Regions from separate parts of the Homo sapiens genome. Here region 2 is linked to region 1. The links are contacts of gene promoters, found by promoter capture Hi-C in human tissues and cell types (Jung and others, 2019). All regions are on one chromosome and are shown on one strand. The core of a region is centred on a gene start or on the middle of the fragment in contact, and the rest is flanking DNA. Distances in the headings are between cores, read along the strand shown.

The links. The method cuts DNA at HindIII sites, captures the fragments that hold promoters and counts their contacts. A contact is called where the count stands out against the background at its distance.
Region 2: a fragment that was not itself captured here is called in contact with the fragment with the promoter of CDC45 in region 1 in 1 of the 25 tissues and cell types used here (lymphoblastoid cells).

The regions. Positions count from the first base shown.
Region 1 is chr22:19,476,649-19,482,057 of GRCh38, forward strand. CDC45 (cell division cycle 45) reads left to right here and starts at 3,272. Exons shown (of 19, transcript NM_003504.5): 1 at 3,272-3,371; 2 at 3,510-3,569; 3 at 4,305-4,397. The coding sequence starts at 3,321. UFD1 (ubiquitin recognition factor in ER associated degradation 1) reads right to left here and starts at 2,545. Exons shown (of 12, transcript NM_005659.7): 1 at 2,435-2,545. The coding sequence starts at 2,437. RefSeq lists silencers at 2,312-2,381, 3,172-3,221 and an enhancer at 2,782-3,081. The HindIII fragment of the contact is 17,956 bases long and covers 1-5,409 here.
Region 2 is chr22:20,044,636-20,050,044 of GRCh38, forward strand. The region is part of intron 3 of TANGO2 (transport and golgi organization 2 homolog); the gene reads left to right. Among named protein-coding and RNA genes, the nearest start is that of MIR185, 14 kb to the left of the region's middle. The HindIII fragment of the contact is 7,778 bases long and covers 1-5,409 here.

The DNA.
Region 1 (5,409 bases), core at 2,022-4,521:
ATCTATACATACTATGTTTTTTCTTATACATATCTACAATTTTCTTATACATATCTACAATAAAGTTTAATTTATAGGCTGGGTGCGGTGGCTCACGCCTATAATCCCAGCACTTTGGGAGGCAGAGGCAGGTGGATTACCTGAGGTCAGGAGTTTGAGACCAGCCTGGCCAACATAGTGAAACCCTCTCTCTACTAAAAATACAAAAATTAGCCGGGCGTGGTGGTACACGCCTGTAATCCCAGCTACTCAGGAGGCTGAGGCAGAAGAATCGCTTGAACCCAGGAGGTGGAAGTTGCAGTGAGCCGAGATCGTGCCACTGCACTCCAGCCTGGGCAACAGAGCAAGACTCCATCTCAAAAAAAAAAAAAAAAAAAAGTTTAATTTATAAATTAGGCACAGTAAGAGATTAACAATTAATAATAAAACAATTACAACAATATACTGTAATAAAAGTTATGTGAATGTGGTTTCTATTTTAATATTTTTGGACCATGGTTGACCTCGGGTAACTGAAACCACCTAAAATCTCACAGGAGGATATATATTCAAAAGAACTGGAGGCAGAATCAAGAAGAGATTTTTGTACACCCCGTATTCATAGCACAATTATTCATAATAGCTAAAAGGTGGAAGCAACTCAAGTGTCCAATGACAGATGAATGAATAAACAAATTGTGGTATGGTATATACATACAATGAAATATTATTCAGCTTTTAAAAGGAAAGAAATCCTGTCACATGGATGAACCTTGAGGATATCATGCCAAGTGAAGTAAGTCAGTCATAAAAGGACTTATATTTTATGAGTCCGCTTCTAGGAAGTACCTAGAGTAGGCAAATTCATGGAGACAAAGTGGAACAGAGATTGACAGGGGCTGTGAGGAGCAGAAAATGGAGAGCTATTGTTTAATGTGAGTAGAGTTTCACTTTTGCAAGATGAAAAAGTTCTGAAAATCTGTTGCTCGTGAATGTACTCAACACTATTGAACTATAGACTGAAAAACGGTTAAGATGATAAAAATTTGGTTTTTTTAACCACAACTAAAAAAAAATCTGTATTAGAGAAAATTTCTTGACTTGATTCCAAATATATATTTAGTAGAAGGAATGCCACCTACTGACAAAGCAGTTTACTAGCAACTCCAAAATTAGCAAGCTGAATTAGCCATCTCCCAAAATGCAAACATAGCATGTTCCCGCCTAAAATCTGGGATGGTTCTTTACTCCCTGGCACTCTAACACAGTAATTTCCAATCTTTTGTCTTTCTTCTTTTAAGCAGCATAACTGTTCAGCTAAATCTTGGCCAGAACCATAACACAGGAAATAGCGTTTCTGGGTGAACAAGGCCAGAACAGGGTAGGGGCTTGCTTCCCTTGAGTGCTTCTCACTAGCCAACCTATGTAAGCCATTTCTTCTCTTTGAATATAAAAGGTAAATCCGCACAAAGGGGCAACATACTTAACAACCTGCCTGCAGTTTACCCATGAACCCGACCTTCTGCCCCTTCTTTGCTGCTCCCGATCCCATCTCTCACTTTCCTTTTCAATCCCGAGACCTAGCACACTGCCTGGAACATATCAGGTATTCTTGAGTGGATGAACTCAAGAATAGAAATAAGCCAGGGTTTGACAGTGACACACTTGGGATAAAATCTAACAATCATTCCTTGTCTTTACTAAAATAAACAGGTGACAGGAAGACAATACCGTAGAGTGCTTTGCAGCCAGACAGACTTGGCTTCAACTCTCCAGTCCCTACTTCTGTGACTCGAATAAAGTACCTCTGTAAACGTTAGTTTTCTCATGTTTAAAATCATCATCATCCTTGCTTCCAAAGGGATTGTAGGGATTAAAAGAAATAAGCCGCGATGAGGGAGTACAGGTGTTAAAAGCTGTGTAACAGGAAATGTACCAGCAGGTATTAGCTTCCATCGTTATCATTACCGAACACAACACCGCTGTACAGATTCGAAGGCACGAACCCGTAGGCACGGAGCTCACGGAGCTGGGGCAAGAGCTGGGTGTCCCCCAAGAGCGGGGGATGCCCACTACGGATTCTCCCTGGGGAGCGCCCTGATTCTGTTCCCATCCCCAGCAACCTTGCAACTAACTTTGGGTTTATGGAAACCTGTTGCGCGTCCAGCACTTGGGAAACCCGTGAATGGACACAAACCTTCCTTTCTTTCGTCAAGGAGGGCAAGTCCGGCTGAGACAGAATGCGAGCCACGTTCAGGACCGGCGGACGCGACCACAGGCGGTTAGTGGTCAAGGGTCCTGCTTGTGCCCGGTGCGGCCGATGAGCCTGCAGGCCGGACTCAGGCCCGGGTGACTCGGCACCTCCGCCGCCGTCCCGCCCCGCCCTGCCCCGCCGGGCCCTACCTCAGGCCCCGGGCCAAGGCCCAGCCCCCGCCCGCTGCCCGTCAGCGCTTACCATGATGGACACCACCTGGCAGACTCCGCTCCTCTCAGGCAATGCAACGAAGAAACCCCGCCGACCGCTCTCCCAGCCGCCGCTGCCGCTGCCGCCGCGCCAAGCCGGTACGCCCCAGAGGCTCACCGGAAGTGCCGGACCCGAGACCCGGAGGGGGGGTGCCCGGGACAAAGCGTCGGCTGCAAAAGAGAAAAGGCCAGGCGAAGACGCTAGGCTCTAAAACACCCTCAGTAGAAGCATTAAAATGCCCTTTCGTGATTTATTTCCCCTTTTATAGGTATTTTTAAACGTTATTTTAAATTACGTGTTGACAGTATTCCCCTCCAGACGAATTTAGTAGGGCCCATTGTCCTTACGACTACACTACCCACAATGCACTACCCAGACTGCCTCTGCTTCAGCCATCGAGGACTCGGGCGGAACTAAGCTACAAATCCTTCTTCAAACCACACCAAAAACCTATTGCAAACGTAAATGCTGCCCCATTGGGTATGTGACTGAGTTTAATGTATGGTTAGAAGTATACTTTCCCTGAGGGTTCCCAGTGGGAGGCAGTAGGCTTCTCTTCCCAAAGTAAAGATGTCCGCCCAGCGTCGCTTTTCTGGGTAAAAGCGAGTCAGAGTTGAAGGGGGCAACAGTGTTTGCGTTCGGCCTCAGAGGTGACGCTTCTTTGGGGGCGGGCTGGAGTTTTCTGGCCGTGAATGGCAGAGCGCTAATGGCCGCCTCCAATGTGGCCCAATCAGAAAGAAAGGAAGGCTGGGAACTAAGAAGCTATTGGTTGGTGATCCCTGGACCAATCGGAGGAGCCGTGATTTGGCGGGAGTCTTGACCGCCGCCGGGCTCTTGGTACCTCAGCGCGAGCGCCAGGCGTCCGGCCGCCGTGGCTATGTTCGTGTCCGATTTCCGCAAAGAGTTCTACGAGGTGGTCCAGAGCCAGGTGACGCCCAGTCCGGGACCCCCGCCGAGGCCTTGCCGGTGGGGAAGGGATGAGGGGGAGCGACCGTGGGTGACCGGGAGGCAGGGGAGGGCCGGGGTTCGGGTCGCCGTGTTCAGCCGGTCTGCTCTTCCCCGATAGAGGGTCCTTCTCTTCGTGGCCTCGGACGTGGATGCTCTGTGTGCGTGCAAGATCCTTCAGGTGAGTTCTGCGGACCCTAGGAGGGCGGGGCCGGCGCGCGAGGTGAGGGTGCTGCGTGGGGGCGCAGGGCGGGCAGAGTGTCAGGATGGGTGCTGAGGGCTTAGGGTGGGAGAGGGAGCAGGGCAGGAGGTGAACAGCAAGTGAGAGGAGAGAGACTCGGAGGAGAGGTTGCCTCCCTGTCCCAACGGTGTGGGGTGGGATAAAGGATTAAGTAAAAGGTAAAGAGACTAGTTTGTATTTTTGCAATAAGCTATTAATATTAATAGGTGAACACAGCAGTTGCATTTGGGGGAAACTTTGGATCTGTCGTGGCCTCTCAAATGGGGGATTTGAGAGAGAGGAATCTGTGACAACTGTGGGTATAGTCGTGTCACAGGTGTTGCTGGGAATATGGGAGCCCCTAGTCTATTAGGGAAGATCGTTAGTTTGGTTTTGAATAGGGCATAGTATTTACGTTGTTTTGGTCAGGCCCTTGGATCAGGAACTTTTCAGAAGGCCTGGAAGTTAAATCGGCATTTCTCCCCGATGTTTTACTTTGGTAATTTGCAAAATTCACAGAATGGTATGGTAAACGCTCATATCCCTAGCACCTAGCTTTTCCCGTAAGCATTTCACTAGCTTTAATGTTATCCCGTGTCTTTTGTCTCTCAACCCGTCTAATCTTCCTCAGTTTCTTTTCAAGGTAAATTGCTAATGTCCTAAATAAGATAGGCTTTGAAAACACTCTCTCTCCAGGCCTTGTTCCAGTGTGACCACGTGCAATATACGCTGGTTCCAGTTTCTGGGTGGCAAGAACTTGAAACTGCATTTCTTGAGCATAAAGAACAGGTATTGAAGATGCGTTTTAGAATAACGTGGCTTTTTACTCAATTGTAATTTCTTGACACAGCATTCTATTTCCACGATAGATTAAGCGTGTATTTAAGTATCAGCTACATTAGGCAATATGGAAGAGAAAAACATGCTGTATTTACTGGTGACTTACCACGCCCAAGTTGTAGAAGCAAAATTGACAGCAAAAAAAGATAATGAATGTGGATAGCCCCAACTTTGAACTTGTTTTAACTTGTTTTGCAGAAATTTGATTGTAAGGTGCTTGGAATCTAGCAGTTTTTAATATGGTCTAGTTAAAATTATTTTATTTTATTTTGGTTTATTTTTTTATTTTTTATTTTTTTTGAAACGGAGTCTCGCTGTGTCGCCCAGGCTGGAGTGCAGTGGCACGATCTCGGCTCACTGCAAGCTGTGTCTCCTGGGTTCATGCCATTCTTCTGCCTCAGCCTCCTGAGTAGCTGGGACTACAGGCACCCGCCACCACACCTGGCTAATGTTTTTGTATTTTTAGTAGAGACGGAGTTTCACCATGTTAGTCAGGATGGTCTTGATCTCCTGACTTTGTGATCTGCCCACCTCCGAAAGTGCTGGGATTACAGGTATGAGCCACCACGCCCAGCCTTTATTTATTTATTTTTGAGACGGAACCTCGCTTTGTCACTCAGGCTGGAGTGTCATGGTGCAATCTTGGCTCACTGCAACCTCCGCCTTCTGGGTTCAAGCGATTCTCCTGCCTCAGCCTCCTAACTAGCTGGGATTACAAGTGCCCACCACCACGCCTGGCTAATTTTTGTATTTCTAGTAGAGACGGGGTTTCGCCACATTGGCCAGGCTGGTCTCGAACTCCTGACCTCAAGTGATCCGCCTGCCTCAGCCTCCCAAAGTGCTGGAATTAGTTAAAATTATTTTAGAATACACTACTATTTTATGTTATTTCTCTGAGAAAATGCATCCTGGTTTCCAACTTAAAATCCAGGAATAAATTTAAACAATAGATGCCAGGATT
Region 2 (5,409 bases), core at 2,029-4,528, 570 kb after region 1:
GTGGTCCCGGCACCGTGTGGGAGGAGGACGGGTGCATGGAGACTGAGGCAGGGTGGTCCTAGGCCTGCTGGTATAGGAGGATGCAGTGGGTGCAGGGCTGGTCAGGACGGGTGGGTGAAGGCACAAGACTGATGTCCTTGGAAGGTGGAAGGTTTTCATAGATGAAGATGTGGCGGCTCAGAGGGTTACCCTCTTCTGGTTCCTTGACTATTGTGCCCTCCTGGGCTCCATCCCACCCTGGCACCCAGGTCTGTCAGCTGCCTCTGAACTAGTGCCAACCCCAGCAGCTCCAGTCTTGTGGAATTGTTCACCCCTGTGGTGTTTTGATGGTGGCAGCTGGTGCATGGATGTACACGGGCTTCTGCCAAGTGTCGGGGTGACCATATCACTAAGGCCCACATCCTCTCACTCTCTGGCGTCACCGGATTGTATGCAAAAGTTTAGGACAGTGGTTCTCCAGGTGTGGTCCTTGGGCCTGTAGCACCAGCTTTACTTGAGAACTTGTTAGAAATGAAATCACCCTGGGCCGGTGGCTCACACCTGTAATCTCAGCACTTTGGGAGTCCAAGGCAGGAGGATCCCTTGAGGCCAGGAGCTTGAGACCGGCCTGGGCAACGTAGTGAGTCCCTGTCTTTACAAAAAAAAAAAAAAAAATTAGCCAGCTGTGGTGGCATATGCCTGTTGTCCCAGTTACTCAGGAGGCTGAGGTGGGAGGATCGCCTGAGCCTGGAAGGTAGAAGCTGCAGTGAACCGAGACTGAGCCACTGCAGTTAGCCTAGGCAACAGAGTGAGACCCTGTCTGAAAAAAAAGAAAAGAAATGCAAATCAAAATCATTAAATTCATAAAAATTTGGCCATCACTTCTTTTTTTTTTTTTTTTTTTTTGAGATGGAATTTTGCTCTTGTTGCCCAGGCTGGAGTGCAATGGTGCCATCTCAGCTCACCGCAACCTCCATCTCCCGGGTTCAAGCTGTTCTCCTGCTTCAGCCTTCCTAATAGCTGGGATTACAGGCATGCACCACCACACCAGGCTAATTTTGTATTTTTAGTAGAGATGGGGTTTCTCCATGTTGGTCAGGCTGGCCTTGAACTCCCGACCTCAGGTGATCCGCCCGCCTTGTCCTCCCAAAGTGCTGGGATTAGAAGCATGAGCCATTGCACCCAGCGGCCATTACTTTTTCAAGTAGTTTTTCTGTCTTCTCTCTCACTCTCTCCTTCTCTCCAGTTACACACATATATTAGTTCACTTGCCCTTGTCCCACACCTCTGCGATGCTCTCTGCGTACTTTTCTCGGTGCCCCTAGATCTTGAGGTTTTCCAGCCTGGTGTCTGGGAGCCAGCCCTACTCCCTGCCCTGTGTGAGCACTGGTGGTTCTTGCCCCAGTGTCATATAGTCTCCTCCCTGAGATGCTGATCAGACATTCTCTGTGTAGCTCCTTCCTCTCTGGACTTTTGTGCCACTGTCTTAGTTCGTTTGTGTTGCTCTAAAGGAAAAAGCTGAGTCTGGGTAATTTTTTTCTTTTTTTTTGAGATAGGGTCTCACTCTGTTGCCCAGGCTGGAGTGCAGTGGCACAATCCTGTCTCACTGCAGCCTCTAACTCCTGGCCTCAAGTGATCCTCCCACCTCAGCCTCCCTAGTAGCTGGGACTACAAGTGCACATCACCATGCCCAGCTAATTTTTAAAAATAATTTGTAGCGACAAAGCCTTGCTGTGTTGCACAAGCTGGTTTCAAAGTCCTGGCCTGAAGTGACCCTCCTTTCTTGGCCTCCGAAAGTGCTGGGATTACAGATAATAAGCCATGGTGCCCAGCCAAGGCTGGGTAATTTTTTTTTTTTTTTTTTTTTTGAGACAGAGTCTTGCTCTGTCGCTTAGGCTGGAGTGCAATGGTGCGACCTTGGCTCACTGCAACCTCCACCTCCCAGGTTCAAGTGATTCTCCTGCCTCAGCCTCCTGAGTAGCTGGGATTACAGGCACCTGCCACCACACCCTGCTAATTTTTGTATTTTTGTATTTTTTTATTATTATTCTTTAAGTTCTAGGGTACATGTGCAGAACGTGCAGGTTTGTTACATAGGTATACATACATGTGCCATGTTGGTTTGCTGCACCCATCAACTCATCATTTACATTGGGTATTTCTCCTAACGCTATCCTTCCCCCAGCCCAATTTTTGTATTTTTAGTAGAGATGGGGTTTCACCAGGTTGGCTGGGCTGGTCTCAAACTCCTGACCTCAAGTGATCCACAAGGCTGGGTAATTTATAAAGAAAAGAGGTTTATTTGGCTTAGAGTTCTACAGGGGACCTGAAGCACAGTGTCAGCATCTGCTTCTGATGCAGGCCTCAGGAAGCTTCTACTGATGGTGGAAGGGGAAGGGGAGGTGGTATGTGCAGATCACACACGGAGGGAGGAAGCCAGAGAGAGGGAGGAGGCGCCACGCTCTTTTAAACAACCAGTTCTCAAAGGAACTAATAGAGCTAGAACTCATCACTGTGAGGACAACACCAAGCCGTTCATGAAGGATCTGCCATTAGGTAGATCTGTCTCCCATTAGACCCCACCTCCAACACTGGGGATCAGTTTTTTGGTTTGTTTGTTTTTTTTTTTTTTTTTTGAGACAGAGTTTCACTCTTGTTGCCCAGGCTGGAGTGCAATGGCACGATCTCGGCTCACCACAAGCTCCGCCTCCAAGGTTCAAGCAATTCTCCTGCCTCAGCCTCCTGAGTAGCTGGGATTACAGGCGCCTGCCACCATGCCCAGCTAATTTTTTGTGTTTTTAGTAGAGACGGGGTTTCACCATGTTGGTCAGGCTGGTCTCGAACTCTTGACCTCAGGCAATCCACCCGCCTCAGCCTCCCAAAATGCTGAGATTAGAGGCGTGAGCCACCTCACCCAGCCCGGGGATCAGATTTTAACATGAGGTCTGGGGGACAAACATCCAAACTATGGCAGCCATGAACTCTGGTTGTCTTAGTTTCCCCAAACACTAAGCCCCTCTTCTCAGCTCAGGGAGTCTGCTGAATTCGGCCTGGTCCCCCCACTCCCTGGGCTGGGTCCTGGAGCCTCTCTAATCATGGGCTCACTTTGTTTCCTGTCTGTCATATCCTTTTTTGTAAAACCCATTTGATATGGTTTGGCTGTGTCTCCACCCAAATCTCATCTTGAATTATAGTTCCCCAAATCCCCACATGTCCTGGGAGAGACCCAGTGGGAGGTAATTGAATCATGGGGCATTACCCCCATGCTGCTATTCTCATGATAGTGAGTTCTCATGAGATCTGATAGTGTTTTGTTTTTTTTTTTTTGAGACTGAGTTTCGCTCTTGTTACCCAGGCTGGAGTGCAATGGTGCGATCTCGGCTCACTGCAACCTCCACCTCCCAGGTTCAAGCAATTCTCCTGCCTCAGCCTCCTGAGTAGCTGGAATTACAGCCGCTTGCCACCACGCCCAGCTAATTTTTGTATTTTTAGTAGAGATGGGGTTTCACCATGTTGGCCAGGCTGGTCTCGAACTCCTGACCTCAGGTGATCCGCCTGCCTCGGCCTTCCGAAGTGCTGACATTACAGGCATGAGCTGCCGCTCCCAGCCAAGATCTGATGGTTTTATAAGGGGCTTTTCCTGCTTTGCTTGGAACTTCTCCTTCCTGCCACCATGTGAAGAAGGACATGTTTGCTTCCCCTTCTGCCATGATTGTAAGTTTCCTGAGGCCTCCCCAGCCATGCTGAACTATGAGTCACATATCTTTCCTTTATAAATTACCCAGTCTCGGGTATGTCCTTGTAGCAGCATGAGAATGGACTAATAAATACACCATTGTTTCTTGAGTTTTATTTATTTATTTATTTTTTGGTTGTTTTATGCAGGAGGGTAAATCTGGTCCTTGTTGCTTGGGCAATTTGGAAGTTTTGTTCTTGTTTTAATTATTGATTTGTAAGAGTTATTTACCCATTCTGGATATGAGTCCTTTGTGCCTACTCATTTCCTTAATGATAGCTTATGGTGAGCAGAATTTTTTTTTTTTCTTTTGAGTGGGTGGAGTCTTACTCTGTTGCCAGGCTGGAGTACAGTGGTGCGATCTCAGCTCACTGCAACCTCCGCCTCCCAGGTTCAAGTGATTCTTCTGCCTCAGCCTCCTGAGTAGCTGGGACTACAAGCATGCACCACCATGCCCAGCTAATTTTTGTATTTTTAGTAGAGATGGGGTTTCACCATGTTGGCCAGGATGGGCTCAATCTCTTGACCTCTTGATCTGCCTGCCTTGGCCTCCCAAAGTGGTAGGATTACAGGCGTGAGCCACTGCGCCCGGCCAGAATATTTCATTTTAACAAAGTACAGTTTATCTTATCTTTTATGAGTTGTTCTTTTTGTGCCTTATCCAAAAAGTCTTTGCCTACCCAGAGGAAAATATATAACAATATTTTCCTCCATTTGCTTCTAGAAGCCTAATTTTTGTTTTTATGTTTGGTCTATGATTTATCTCAAGGTTTTGTACATGGTGTGAGGTAGGGGTTGAGATTTACTGCCTCCAACCCCCAAATCTCTCTAGTTGTTCCAGCATCATTTATTAAATGGATTATCTTTTGCCTAGTTCATTACTATGGCAACTTGGTTGTACATCAGTTGAACATATATGTGTGGGTCTATTCCTGACTCTGTTGTATCCCATTGATCTATGTATCTGTCTTGATGCCAACACCATGCAGTCTATGAGTGCTGCTGCTTTTTAGTAAGTCTTGAAATCAGGCTGAGCACTGTGGCTCACACCTGTAATCCCAGCACTTTGGGAGACCGAGGTGGGCAGATCACCTGAGGTTGGGAGTTCAAGACCAGCCTGACCAACATGGAGAAACCCCGTCTCTACTAAAAATACAAAATTAGCTGGGTGTGGTGGTCCATGCCTGTAATCCCAGCTACTCGGGAGGCTGAGGCAGGAGAATCACTTGAACCCGGGAGGCGGAGGTTGCGGTGAGCTGAGATCACGCCATTGCACTCCAGCCTGGGTAACAAGAGCGAAACTCTGTCTCAAAAAAAAAAAAAAAAAGAAAAAAGAAATCAGGCAATGTGGGTCTGCCTTCTTTTTCGGGACTATTTTGGCCATCCCAGTTCCTTTGCATATGCATAGATATTTCAGCCAGTCTGTTAATTGCTATAAAACGAAAAGCCCCCTGGGATTTTGACTGGGCAGGTTTTGAATCTATGGGTCATGTGGGGAGAAGTGTCACCTTAACAATACTGAGTTGTCTAAGAAGTACCCAGTGAAACAAATAATAACAAGAAGAAACACTGTTGAGGCTGGGCACGGTGGCTCACGCCTGTAATTCCAGCACTTTGGAAGGCCGAGGCGGGCCGATCATGAGATCAGGAGACCGAGACCATCTTGGCTAACACGGTGAAACCCTGTCTCTACT